Linked DNA regions of Homo sapiens: regions 2 and 3 are each linked to region 1. The links are contacts of gene promoters, found by promoter capture Hi-C in blood cells and fetal thymus (Javierre and others, 2016). All regions are on one chromosome and are shown on one strand. The core of a region is centred on a gene start or on the middle of the fragment in contact, and the rest is flanking DNA. Distances in the headings are between cores, read along the strand shown.

The links. Contacts are between HindIII fragments. The CHiCAGO score rates a contact against its expected background, and 5 or more counts as called.
Region 2: a contact is called between a fragment that was not itself captured here and the fragment with the promoter of LHFPL3 in region 1, in 1 of 17 cell types (M2 macrophages). The highest score is 5.5, in M2 macrophages.
Region 3: a fragment that was not itself captured here is called in contact with the fragment with the promoter of LHFPL3 in region 1 in 1 of 17 cell types (endothelial precursors); the score reaches 5.0 in endothelial precursors.

Annotation. Positions count from the first base shown.
Region 1 is chr7:104,325,999-104,330,515 of GRCh38, reverse strand. It overlaps LHFPL3 (LHFPL tetraspan subfamily member 3), which reads right to left and starts at 1,913. Exons shown (of 3, transcript NM_199000.3): 1 at 1,292-1,913. The coding sequence starts at 1,736. The HindIII fragment of the contact is 14,292 bases long and covers 1-4,517 here.
Region 2 is chr7:104,719,365-104,723,642 of GRCh38, reverse strand. All of the region lies in intron 1 of LHFPL3 (LHFPL tetraspan subfamily member 3), which reads right to left. Among named protein-coding and RNA genes, the nearest start is that of LHFPL3-AS1, 83 kb to the left of the region's middle. The HindIII fragment of the contact is 4,162 bases long and covers 323-4,278 here.
Region 3 is chr7:104,836,636-104,841,132 of GRCh38, reverse strand. The region is part of intron 2 of LHFPL3 (LHFPL tetraspan subfamily member 3); the gene reads right to left. Among named protein-coding and RNA genes, the nearest start is that of LHFPL3-AS1, 35 kb to the right of the region's middle. The HindIII fragment of the contact is 5,511 bases long and covers 194-4,497 here.

The sequences.
Region 1 (4,517 bases), core at 664-3,163:
ATAGGACTATGAACCTTAACGCTATTGTCCAGCACCTTTAAGTATCTACTCATCCTACAACACTCTGTCAGGGATTGAATCCCTCTCCCCAGAAAACCTTCCCAGGAATAGAATAAACGACAAAATCTTGAAACATCTTAAAAATGAGAACAGTAAAAGAAAACGCAAATGAAAACTTTAGCTGCCTAAGATATTCAGTGCCCTTCTACAACCAGACCATCCATAAAATCAAAAGGACCTCAACAATGTTGGAACAGAAATGTGTCACGACCACTGGACCCTTGACTTTAGAAGGGAGGGCATCCAAGCTGGCTGGCAGAGAGGCAATCGCCATCAGGGGAAGTACAGCAAGGAGTCAGTTTTGTTTCAGGACTCTTCAAAGTCACCAGGAAATGTACCCCATCCTTTCTGGGTTAAAAGTAACTTTGATGCACAGAAAAAAAGTACTTTCATATCCTCCAGCTAGCAACAATTTATCATCCACAGGGAAAGAGTGATCGGAGATGCTAATGAAACATTCTCCTCTCTGCCTACTTCCCCAAAGCCACTTCCCAAAAATGAGATCTTGAGGAATCTTGATTTACTAAAGACTTCTGTTTAAAGATGAAATGGAAGGAACTTTGCACGGACAAGGAGGCAAACTGAAGACTTGACATTGAGGAATTGCGAAAGAATGTTCTAAGCTACATTCTTCTTACAAGGGGAAACCCAAAACAGAATTAAGATCTCTTCACCTCCGGATGGAGGAGTAAACATATTTAACTGCCCGGGATGGAAAGAAACAGTATCACTCCAGCCACCGCCCCCCGCCCCCTTTCCCAGGATCAATGACAGAAATAGTCCCAGCAGCGAGGGGCAGGGCAGGCTGGCTGCTCCTTCCACTATGACCTCTCCAAATCCGCTTTTCACTTCGCCCTGTCAGTCCCTCCTTAGTCCCTCAGCACGGAACCCCGGCCCCATCTCTCTAAGCGGCCACTTCTCCACCCACCATCCTTAGTTCTGAGCGGACTCGGCCCCACAACCGCCCTGCCTCCGGGGCGTCCCTCTGAGTGGGCGTCCCCCACACTTGGGAGGCTCACGAAAGCCCCGGGACGAGGCGCCAGCGCCGGGGCTGGGGAACCCCGGGGGTTCCGGCCTCGCTGGGCTCCCGCCCCCCACACCTCGACGCCTGAGCGGATTAGGCGGCTTGGCTCGCAGCGGCGCGCACAGCCCCCGTCCCTCCCACTCTGGCCCCTCCCCGGCTCGGGCGCCCCGGGGTCCTCCGCCTCCGCGGAGGTGAGCGCGCACTCACCGGAGGTGAGCTGCATCCAGGCACATATCTTGTACACAGTGGCCGTGTTGCAGAAGAAGAAGAGGGTAAAGCAAATGATGCAGGCAATGATGAGCATCATGGAGAGGCCGATAAAGAAGGAGGCGGCTTTGAAGGCGCCCGAGGGCAGCGTGGAGAAGTCCGTGAAGCTGCCCCTGCAGGTCAGCTCCCGGGAGAAGCCGTTGCCGATGCAGTAGTGGAAGAGCCCGAAATAGCCGGCTTGCGGGGTGTCCACGCCGTCGCCTATCCAGTAGGGCTGGATGAAGCACACCACGTTGACGATGGCAAAGCAGATGGTGAAGATGGCCCACAGCACGCCGATGGCCCGCGAGTTCCGCACATAGTTGGTGTGGTACAGCTTGGCAGCCTCCTGAGCCGGGAGCATCGCGGCGGCGGCGGCGGCGGCAGCGGCGGCGGCTCCGGGCATTCTCCCCCTCCTCCTCCTCCTCCTCCTCCTCCTGGTCCTCCGCCTCCCCCCGCCTCTCAGCGCGCAGGAGACACACTCACGGAGCCTCGCGCGCTGCAACTCCCCTGCCTCCGCCTCAGCCCAGCAGCACCAGTTTCAGAGTCTGCATCCTCGCTCCCGGAAGGAGGGCGGGGGAGCGCGGAGCACCCCTCCGGCTCGCCTGGCACAGCCTCCCGGCTCCCCTCCCTCCCTCCTGGCCCGGGCTCCGGCCCTCCTCACCACCCTCCACCCCTCTTCCCGCCGCCGCCGCTGCAGCTGCTGCAGCTGAAGGCGGCAAATCCCTCGTGGAGCACCGCGGCGCGCAAGCCCGGGGCGCCTCCCGCTCTGCTTCCCGCCTCCCTCCCCGCTGCCCGGCCCGCGCTGCCAGTGCCCAGGGGCGCAGAGGACAGTGACGACCCCGGAACGCCCATCAAGGGGTGGACATGAGCCAGAGAAGTGGGCCTGGATTAGGAGGGCGAGGGTAGTCTAAGAAGGTGGCAGGAGCACCCACAGGGATCCTAGAGACAACCCCAGGATCCTGGTGGGTGTGAGAGGCCGGGCTCGAGAGGCTGATTCAGCGAGCATTTCATCACCGCACAGAAACGTGCTTCGACCTCTGCATCTTTGCAGAGGCACGAGGGGCAGCGCGGCAATTGCAGGCAAGAGGCGCCAAGGCAGTGGAGGCATACAGCCCCCAAGAGTCTTTCTTGTTACCACAGAACTGCCCCTGGCTAACTCCTCGGTTGCCTTCAGGTCCACAGGTGGAGATAGAAGTTGCGCAGGAGCCTGGCAGACAATAATGTAAAAGACAAATCTCAAGGGTGGTCTCACATCAAGCACAGCTGAGCTTGCGTCCTCTTTGCGTTTTTCCCCCAAGCAGCCAGCTGAACTGTAGCCAATGGATGCCCCATACTTTCCTTTAGGTCGTTTCCCCGATAATTCCTTCCATAGATTGGGCCTGTGTGTGCTTGGAAGGGACTGTGTCACAGAATTTTATAGTTTGTTTGAAAACAGGGTAGTTCGGCCAGTGTTACACTTACTATACAAATATTGACAGCTACTCTGTGCCCAGACGCTGAGCTGGGTGGTAAGGGTACAAAAAGACATAGCAGATGGTTAATTGTCCAGGAACTTCCATCTCCCCCTACAACCCAAAGCTAACCAGAGAGCTGTTTTCAGGCTAATTTATCCCGGAATTACCACTATAGAATTCCTTACATTTTCACATGGCATTGCTGTTGTACACCTGCCCTTCGTGCTGTTTCCTTAGCTTATGTTTTCCCTTTTAACAGTCTTTCTGTTGCTCTTTTAACAGTTTCTACTTTTCAAACTGCATTTCCCTATTTCCGTTGGTTTTTTTGTTTGTTTCCTTCTGATTCTGATATAAAGAAACATGTAACTGCCTCCCACCCCCAGCCATGAAACCAGAATGCTTAATTGTAGGAGTGGATTTTGGTAACAAATCGTTTTGAACCATATGATCACAGAATTTTCTGAGCATTTCTATCAGAGAGAATTCTGATAGAATTGGACCCTAAGTCTTACCTAATTGGCTATATCAACGGCTATTCTATGGTAGAAGGGTCATAACCTAAGTGATGAAAATTATGCTTTTCATTTGATAGTCTGAAGATTTGAGATTCTATGAAGAGGGAGGGGGAGAAAGTGGAATAGGGGTGTGAGACACATAAGATAATGAAGGGGCTGCTGCTGAAACTGGGGAAAGCATCTAAAAGCATGAGTTTTCAGAATCTTCCATTCAGTTTTTTCTATAGGCATGTAATTCATGTATTGTAATACATGTCCATCAGACAAGGTCCATCTTATACAAGGTCCATTGTAATACAAGGTCCATCAGACAGAGCTTTGAAAATCAAGAGAACAGAATTAAACAGTAGCATGAGACATGTAAGATTAAGTGAGTAAGAATTTCTAGCAAGTGTGGTTGTAGACTCTCAGAAGGTCTTCAAAATAAATATCAGAGGGATTTGGAGGAGGTGACAAAGATGACCAAAATATGAGTTAGCCCAATATAACACTTGCAAGTCTCTAAAAATACAGTTCATGATGATGCATCTTGAGTGCATTGGTGGCAGTGGAGGGTCAGAATTTCTGTTAGGTTTCATTTGTTTTAACTCTCCTGAAGTTGCTGGTAAATCAGAAGAATTTTAACATGGAAAGAGAAAAAGGAAAGGAGAATAATCAGATTTATGAGGCCATTTGGCAGGCCATGCGTCCCAGGGGCAGAGATAGCTTTACAGCAAGAACTGACAGTAATTTCTAGTAACTCTCTTAAGCCCTCAAATCCCCCAAACCTGGTTGTATGAAGTAGTCTCTCTTTAAAATAAATGCCTGAAAGAAATCTTACTGTTTCCATGGGGTGGTTGAGATGTGAGGTGGCTGAGAAGGGAAGGCTGAGAATCAAAAAGCCTGGTTTATACCTCAATGCTTGAATTGCCTTTATGGGACAAAGAAAAGACTGGTGGGTGACTCAGATTCAAATGTGATTCAAAGAGCTTTTCTACTTGAGTCATGCCCAAGGAAAGCCTTATTCTCATTCCAGGTTTGGAATCACCTCTGGGTTCATGTTCAGAATCACCATGCCAAGGGGCACACTCAAAGTGTCCACTCTTGTCAACAGCAACTAGGATCAGACCAGTGTTGGTGTATTGCTGATCTAAAGTGCTCCCATTCCCTCTGAGAATTTGAGTTGTTGCCTCTTGAAGTTAGGGTCAGTTGGGGATGAACTGGACTCTGTCAGTG
Region 2 (4,278 bases), core at 1,154-3,653, 390 kb before region 1:
TCAAGCGATTCTCCTGTCTCAGCCTCTTAAGTAGCTGGGATTATAGGTGCCCACCGCCACACCCAACTAATTTTTGTATTTTTCGTAGAGACAGGGTTTCACCATGTTGGTCAGGCTGGTCTCAAACTCCTGACTTCAAGTGATCCACCCACCTCTGCCTCCCAAAGTGCTGGGATTACAGGCGTGAGCCACTGCACTGGGCTGAGAGAACATTCTTGAATGCTAAAGAGAAACGAGAGCTCACAAGCTGGAGGTGAGCAGAGAAGTGATGAAAAGAAACCATGCCATGATATCTTCTGACACAGAGTAAACAACAAAAGCTTCTTTGTGAGGATATCACCGATGATTTCAATTTTAGGTATCTTCCAAATGTTTAAGAAACATTTACATTCTGAAAGGAATCTCTGTGTAGAGGCTACTGATGCCCACAAAGGGCTCTTCTGAAATAGTACACAAATGGCTAGTGGTTCCCCAGAGCCACTAATTGCTCTGGCATTTTTCTTGCTAAAGAGCTGAATGTAACCTCTATGGAGGAAACATCCTTAGAAAAATCCACAAACCTTTGTAATTGGGTCTTTCTTCAAAGGAAAATGAAGCAAAATGAAAAAAGCAATAGGGGGCCTATGACTTGGGTTACGTGGGCCTGCTGATACTGCTGGTCTGACTATCCCATTTGGGGCTTTTAACGTTGTGAACCTGAGAACTACTTATTTTTTTAACAGAAGGAGAAAGTCTAAATTCATTCTTTAAAAAGTCTATGCACTGTTGCACAAAAAAACTGATAAATTGCCTCATGTTGCTGAAGCACTCAAGGGGAACTTGGTGAAAAAAAGGAACCTGCATCCGCTTAGCTCTGTCAATTATTCAGGCATACAGTAGTTGAAGAAATTGATGCCAGCAGACACTGCCAGGCTATGGAGGGGGAACTTTCACACAAGGATTGTCACTCTTAACACCTGGTAAAAGAGATAGAAGGCTCATTCCTATCACTTCTTTATTGGCACGTGGCTGACAAACTTGAGCTATAATATTTATACCTCTAGAAAAAGTATAATATTTACACCTTGGTCTCTTCTGAAAACAGAGTCACTGGACAATCTAGGACATGAAATACTGTGGTTTAGAGTGTGGTGAAGAAAACACATTGTGTCCTGGTAAATTTTGGCTTTAAACACAGTGTAATTTTATGGGCATTTAACTTGGGGTCGTAACACAAAATATGTAACATCCCTTAGGGAGATAGAGGAGAAAAGAAAATATAAACACAGGGCTCTTAAAAGAGAAGAGTTAGAATGTTGTGTCTGATGATGAGAAAAGCCTCTCTGCTGTGCCAAAATACGTAGCTCCAGTTTGTTCAACTAAAAGGATCTGTATATACATCCACACATTGTGCGGTATCAGCTGTGAAACCTTGGACCTCGGCTGTAAGCAGATGATCTGGAGTCCGTCCACACCTGCATGTATGAACTATCTAGTTGATGGAGAAACACCTTTTATAGAATATGTTGCCAGACAAAAGGCAACATATTGAAATATGTTTCAGAAAAATAAATAACATCACTTGCTAATTTACCCAAATTTTAAGGGTTAATACCCAAATAAAATGAAAATCAGAATTTAGAACTTGAAAAATTAAAAGCAGTTCTGATCTCTAGAGCACCACTAGATGGCTTCTGATACATACCAAGGGTCCAGTCACATTCATTGAAATCCTGCTAATGGTATAGTTAATAATAATAATACACATCATAATAATAGCTAATATTTATTGAACATTTACCATGTATGGGGCACACTTTACAGGCATCATCTCATTTGATTCTCCAATAAAGCTAAGAGAAACATGAGAACACTTCTTCCTGACACCTTCAGTTTCTGCAAAGAGGAATTTTTCCTTAAATACTCTTGGCCCCTTATTCCACTTCTCATTCCTTTCCATGGCAGTGGAATGAGTTACCTGATGAGTGTCTGGGGAAGAGGAACTGGGAATACCTTTCCAACACTTTCCTTTCCCTACCTTAGGAGTAGTTTGTCCACGCAAAGCATGTGTTCTACTCCTCCATGCTATACATCCTACATCAGGCTGGCCTGATTTTTTTTTTTAATTATACTTTAAGTTCTAGGGTACATGTGCACAACGTGCAGGTTTGATACACAGGTATACATGTGCCATGTTGGTTTGGTGCACCCATCAACTCATCATTTACATCAGGTATTTCTCCTAATGCTATCCCTCCCCTAGCTCCCCCACTCCCCGACAGGCCCCAGTGTGTGATATTCCCTGCCCTGTGTCCAAGTGATCTCATTGTTCAGTTCCCACCTATGAGGGAGAGCATGCGGTGTTTGGTTTTCTGTCCTTGTGATAGTTTGCTGAGAATGATGGTTTTCAGCTTCATCCATGTCCCTGCAAGAGACATGAACTCATCCTTTTTTATGGCTGCATAGTATTCTATGCTGTATATGTGCCACATTTTCTTAATCCAGTCTATCACTGATGGACATTTGGGTTGGTTCCAAGTCTTTCCTATTGTGAATAGTGCCACAATAAATATACATGTGCATGTGTCTTTATAGTAGCATGATTTATAATCCTTTGGGTATATAACCAGTAATGGGATTGCTAGGTCAAATGGTAATTCTAGTTCTAGATCTTTGAGGAATCGTCACACTGTCTTCCTCAATGGTTGAACTAATTTACACTCCCACCAACAGTGTAAAAGCATTCCTATTTCTCCACATCCTCTCCAGCATCTGTTGTTTCCTGACTTTTTAATGATCGCCATTCTAACTGGCGTAAGATGGTATCTCATTGTGGTTTTGATTTGCATTTCTCTGATGACCAGTGATGATGAGCATTTTTTCATGTGTCTGTTGGCTGCATAGATGTCTTCTTTTGAGAAGTGTCTGCTCATATCCTTCGCCCACTTTTTGATGGGGTGTTTTTTTTCTTGTAAATTTTTTGGAGTTCATTGTAGATTCTGTATATTAGCCCTTTGTCAGATGAGTAGATTGCAAAATTTTTCTCCCATTCTGTAGGTTGACTGTTCACTCTGATGGTAGTTTCTTTTGCTGTGCAGAAGCTCTTTAGTTTAATTAGATCCCATTTGTCAATTTCGGTTTTTGTTGCCATTGCTTTTGGTGTTTTAGTCATGAAGTCCTTGCCCATGCCTACGTCCTGAATTGTATTGCCTAGGTTTTCTTCTAGGGTTTTTATGGTTTTAGGTCTAACATGTAAGTCTTTAATCCATCTTGAATTAATTTTTGTATAAGGTATAAGGAAGGGATTCAGTTTCAGCTTTCTACATATGGCTAGCCAGTTTTCCCAGCACCATTTATTAAATAGGGAATCCTTTCCCCATTTCTCATTTCTGTCAGGTTTGTCAAAGATCAGATGGTTGTAGATGTGTGGTGTTATTTCTGAAGCCTCTGTTCTGTTCCATTGGTCTATATATCTGTTTTGGTACCAGTACCATGCTGTTTTGGTTACTGTAGAAGGCAGGCCTGCTGAGATTAGGAAGATTCAGTATGTCTCATTCTAAGAGTGCAGACTAGTAAGTCCTTTTGGCTAATAGAGCCAGAGCCATGTTCTTCTGCCTAGGCTTTTTTGTAATAAAGGGGCTATTTTGGTTCCCATCTTCCTCCATCGCTCTCAGTTGGTTTGGAGGTCAGGTTCGGAAATAGGAGGCTGCCATTTGTTATTTCTCGACCAACCTTGACATTATTATTATTTTTTTACATGTGAGGGAACAGAGGCATACAAATGTCAAATACTTGCTCGAGGTCATACACGGTCCACAAATGGCAGAATCAGGATTTGAACCTAGGCAGTCTATGCTTTTGGAATCTATGCTTTTATTATCCTCTACATATGAACAGTAACAACGCATGTGAAATCACTTTCGAATATTGGTTTTAGCACTAAGAACACTTATAGAATCTTGGCATTGCTTAACATGTTACTTATAACTAGACATTTTTTGAGTACAAGAACTACTAATAAAATGACGCTTAAAAACTGTTGGTTTTTATATGTATAAATATTTCTTTTATTTACACTAGAATTTCACCTAATTAGAATTTCATTTTACACGTAGTGCCAAGAACTTTAGAATAATTATAAATGCTAAATGTGTGGAATGGGAATTAATGAGCTTTTATTGCATAAATTCATGTATAAACATTTGTATAGTTGGTTTCATATACACATACAGTTTGTTCCATACACACTTGTACAAGAATACTCATCCCCCTTTTTTGGCTTGATTTTTTTGCCTCGAT
Region 3 (4,497 bases), core at 1,700-4,199, 510 kb before region 1:
CAAAAGGCAGCCGAGGCTTGCTGGCACCATGCATGTGTGGGTGAAGCATACTTTCCTCTGTGCTATGAGCCAACGGACACGACTTTTACCATTATTGCTCCTACTGGAGAACTTTGTTCACAGGACTCACCAAATATCAAAATCACTCATCATGGCGGCTCAACTAATGAGCTGAGATTTCATTTCATAAGCTTACTTATTATACTCGAAACATTAAAAAAAAGACAACCTTTATGTTTCTATTTGATTTATTCAAACTTGAATGAACTGTGGTCTCATTCATTTAGAATGTTAGAAAAACCATGAAAATGTTCTTCTGAGTATTTTTTATTTGGGTGATTTTCACTAAACCCTGGGAATTTGGGTTCTATAGTTTAATTTCCCACTTCCTAGGTAGTAGTAGATAATAGGTGGAATGCTGAGTATTGACTGATTTTCCTTCAAATGCATCACCTTCTGGATATTTGGTGTTCAGTGGGGGGAGGGTAGCAATAAAAAGGACAGAAATGAAAGAACCTGGGAGTGGTAGCTCCTGCCCGTAATCCCAGTACTTCAGGAGGCTGAGGTAGGAGGATCACTTGAGCTCAGGAGTTCAAGACCAGCCTAGGCAACAAGGCCCTGGTCTCTACAAAAAAAAAAAAAAAAAAAAAAAAAAAAAGGAAAAGAAAATTAGCATGGTGGCATGTGCCAGTAGTCCCAGCTACTCCGGAGGCTGAGGCTGAGGCTTGAACCTGAGGGTGTAATAGTCGCGATTGTGCCGCTGCACTCCAGCCTCGGTGACAGAGTGAGACCTTGTCTCAAAAGGAGAAAAAAAAAAAAAAAAAGAAAACCCACAAGAAAAGACAGAAAAAAGAAATGAGAATCTTCAAGAAAATGATTTTTAATTGAGAAGTCTTTCAGAGAAGGAATACAAGATAGTATTGTAATTTAGTGTTAGAGTCAAAGAAGTTTAGGGCTGGATGTGAACTTGGTAATTTTTCCAGTCCAAATGTTATAGATTTGTTTCCTAATCTATAAAATGAAGCAAACTGACTGGATAATAATGATAATATTAACATCATTAATAATTATACTTAATAATTATTGATTATAATTGTCAATTAATCTTAATATGTATAATTTTAATGATCAATTAATAATATTAATTATCCAGTCAACTTGCTTCATTTTGAGATTAGGAAACAAAAACTCAGAGGACAAGTGAGAGCCTGTTAGGGACAGACTTAGTGGTAGACCTCCTGACTCATGATCCAGGACCACCCCACCATACTGCTTCCCATTTTCAATAGAAAAACAAAGTTTTCTAAGCAATACACCCATCAGGTAATATGAGTAATATAGCCAACCTACCCTCTGAGTGCAGAGAGACTTAATATCTTCACAAGCAAGTGTTACAGGTGCGAGCCTCTGTGGACAGCCAGAAATGTTAATTTAATTTTTTTTCTTTCTTTTTTTTCTTTTTTTAAGGTAGAGTCTTGCTCTGTTGCCCAGGCTAGAGTGCAGTGGCACGATCTTGGCTCACTGGAACCTCCACTTCCTGGATTCAAATGACTCTTGTGCCTCAGCCTCCCAAGTAGCTGGGATTACAGGTGTTTGCCACCTTGCCTGGTTAATTTTTTGTATTTCTAGTAGAGAGGGGGGTTTTGCCATATTGGCCAGGCTGGTCTCGAACTCCTGACCTCAAGTGATCTGCCTGCCTCGGCCTCCGAATATGCTGAGATTACAGGCATGAGCCACCACGCTTGGCCCCCAAATTATTAATTTTATAATATAAAAGAAATTCAGGTTTCCAATCTGCCATATAGGTGGAAACCCTCAGGATCTCAGGAATGGAGTTCCATTGGCTGAAATGCACTTTATACACCTTAGCTGGCCTTGAAGGTTAGTTAAGCTCCCTGTTTTACAATCTTACCAATTTAACACTGCTATCCTGTCCTCCCTCTGGGGTGACAGGTGGCTAAAACCACATTTAGATTTTCCTCTGAGGGGAAATTTCTCTCTCCTTGACGGTCTCACTGTTCTGTGTCTCACAGCCTACTAGGAACCTGCAGGGAGCTCCCCTTGGGAGTGTCTCTTCTCTGCCTACCTGCTTTCATCTACTCTGGGGTCAGAATATTCTCTTTCTTTAAGAATTCATTCCCTGGTGGAAATGTAAGCATGCTAGAATTTATTCTGGGCTCTTACAGCATTGTTTCAGTTTTTGCTTTAGACATTATTAAAAGTGACTTTTAAAAACATGAAATGAGTTCTGGTATTAACTACATTATTTTGGTTAAAAAGATGAAGCAATGTTTCTCTGTACTTGCACATTCCAACACAGCAGTCCCTAGACACATGTGGTTATTTAAATTAATTAAAATAAAACACAAAAATTCAGTTCCTCAATTTCACTAGACACATTTCAAGCACTCAAAAGCCACATGTGTCTATGGTATGAAATTGGACAGAGCAGATAAAGAACATTTCCGTCACTGTTTTGCAAGACGGTGCTGCTTTATAACACCTATTATGCTTTAGTCAAATTTGAAAGCAAGCTCTGTACTTTGTTCTACAAGTCAGATTCTGGAAAAGATACAATGAAACATAAATATGTCAGCTACAGTCAAAACTCATCTGTAAAATAATTAATAAACAATACAGTTGGAATTCTGGGTGTCTTTATACTCAAGTCAGCCACATACAGCCTTATCACTTAATTTAGATTCTAATGAAATCAGACTTCATTTAAATGGAGATAGAGCTGACTTTCACTACAGTGGTAGCTCTTCTCAATGGAGGTGTATATGTAGGGTTAGGAGCAGAGATGGAAGTACACAGCAAAATGTATCAGAAACACCTGAGAACTTGCACAGAACTAGCCATTTCCTCCCTCCCCAGATAGATTAGAATTAGTTAGAGAGGGCAGGTGTGGCACAAAGGACTTCTGTCTTTTGAAAAAGTTCCTCAAATGGTTCTCATATATCTTTACCAGCCGTATCCCTCCAGTTGAGAACCAAAAGGATGGCTAATTGCAGGATGGCCAGGGTCATTGAGGTAAGTTATACCCGTAAGTCCTTATGTAGGTTAAGCTCTGATTACTGGAGCTGGTTTCATGAGCAATTCCATACTAAGTCTAAGTAGAGTGGGTAAGACTTCTGGTTAACAAGGTTATAATTGTTTGTTAATATAACATGTTTATATAGTTTCTGAAGGTTATATTGAAGGCATGCTAGCATTAAACATTTATTCGTTCAAGAATCACTTATTGAACGTCTAATAATGTCTATCAAACACCGTGATAAGTATTGTGGAATATGGTAAAATAAGTAAGCAATGGCACTGGAATGTGGCAGCTAAATTCCTGTGTGGGCTTTGAGTTAGACTGAGTTTAAAGTTGGCACTTTCTATAGGGTGCAGTGTATACTGCCCAGGTGATGGGTGCACCAAAATCTCACAAATCACCACTAAAGAACTTACTCATGTAACCAAACACCACCTGTTCCTCAATAACCTATGGAAATAAAAATAAAAAAAAATAAAGTTGGTGCTTTCTAGCTGTGTGTCCTCAGGTGAACTACTCAACCTCCTCAAGGCTCAGTTTCTTGCATTAAATTGGGGATAATGTTAGCACTTACTTTATGGGATTATTAATGAGGATTGAATAATATAAAATACACAGGGAAGATTTAGTACAATTTCGTGACTATAGCATTAAAGGGTATATAGTTTAGTGCGGAAGATAAACCTACTTAAGCTACACTCCTCCTCATTGCAGATGGCTGGTTCAATTGATAATGAAAAGGTGCTAAAGAAGTCAAAGGTGTAGGTATGATCCCTGTGTGGTCCAATCAGCTCTAGGGTAGATCAGACGTCTCTGCTCTTAGCCCAGCCATTCCACAAATGTGGCCAGCAGGGAATCAGGGTAATGGCACATGGACAATCAAACATGAGAGCTGAGAGTGATCCAGGATGAAGTCATCCAAGTTCCTTCCTTTAGAGACAAGTAGACTAAGTTGCAAAATCGAAGTACCTTGCCAAACTTTAAACACAACCCATCGGTGGCAGATATGAAGCCAGATCTCAGGGTTTCTGATTCCCTGCCCAATGTTCATTGTGCACACACTGAATATTTCCTAATGGAACGGAGATCTTCATCACCATGAAATATTAGAAAAGATCCTCATCTTACTATTATCTGGCCGTGGGATTATCTTCAAACACATTTTCATTAGCTTCAGAACCCAGATACAAGACTGGGTGTAATTTTCATTTGTCGTCAGAGATAAACTGACATCCTACAAGCCATGGCTCCTAGGAGCAACTCTGTGTAGACTAACAAACCAAAATAGTCAAATATTCTTGAGATCCAGTTTGTTGTACACCCCAAAAGTTAACCTGGCTCATCTCTGCTCAGCAGGGGTAAATCCTTCAGCTCTGGAATATCAGAATGGGTAGCAGAGCATAGTGAACTTATAAAAAACAGAGTGCCAGAATGTAGGACCCAACCTTCATGGCACC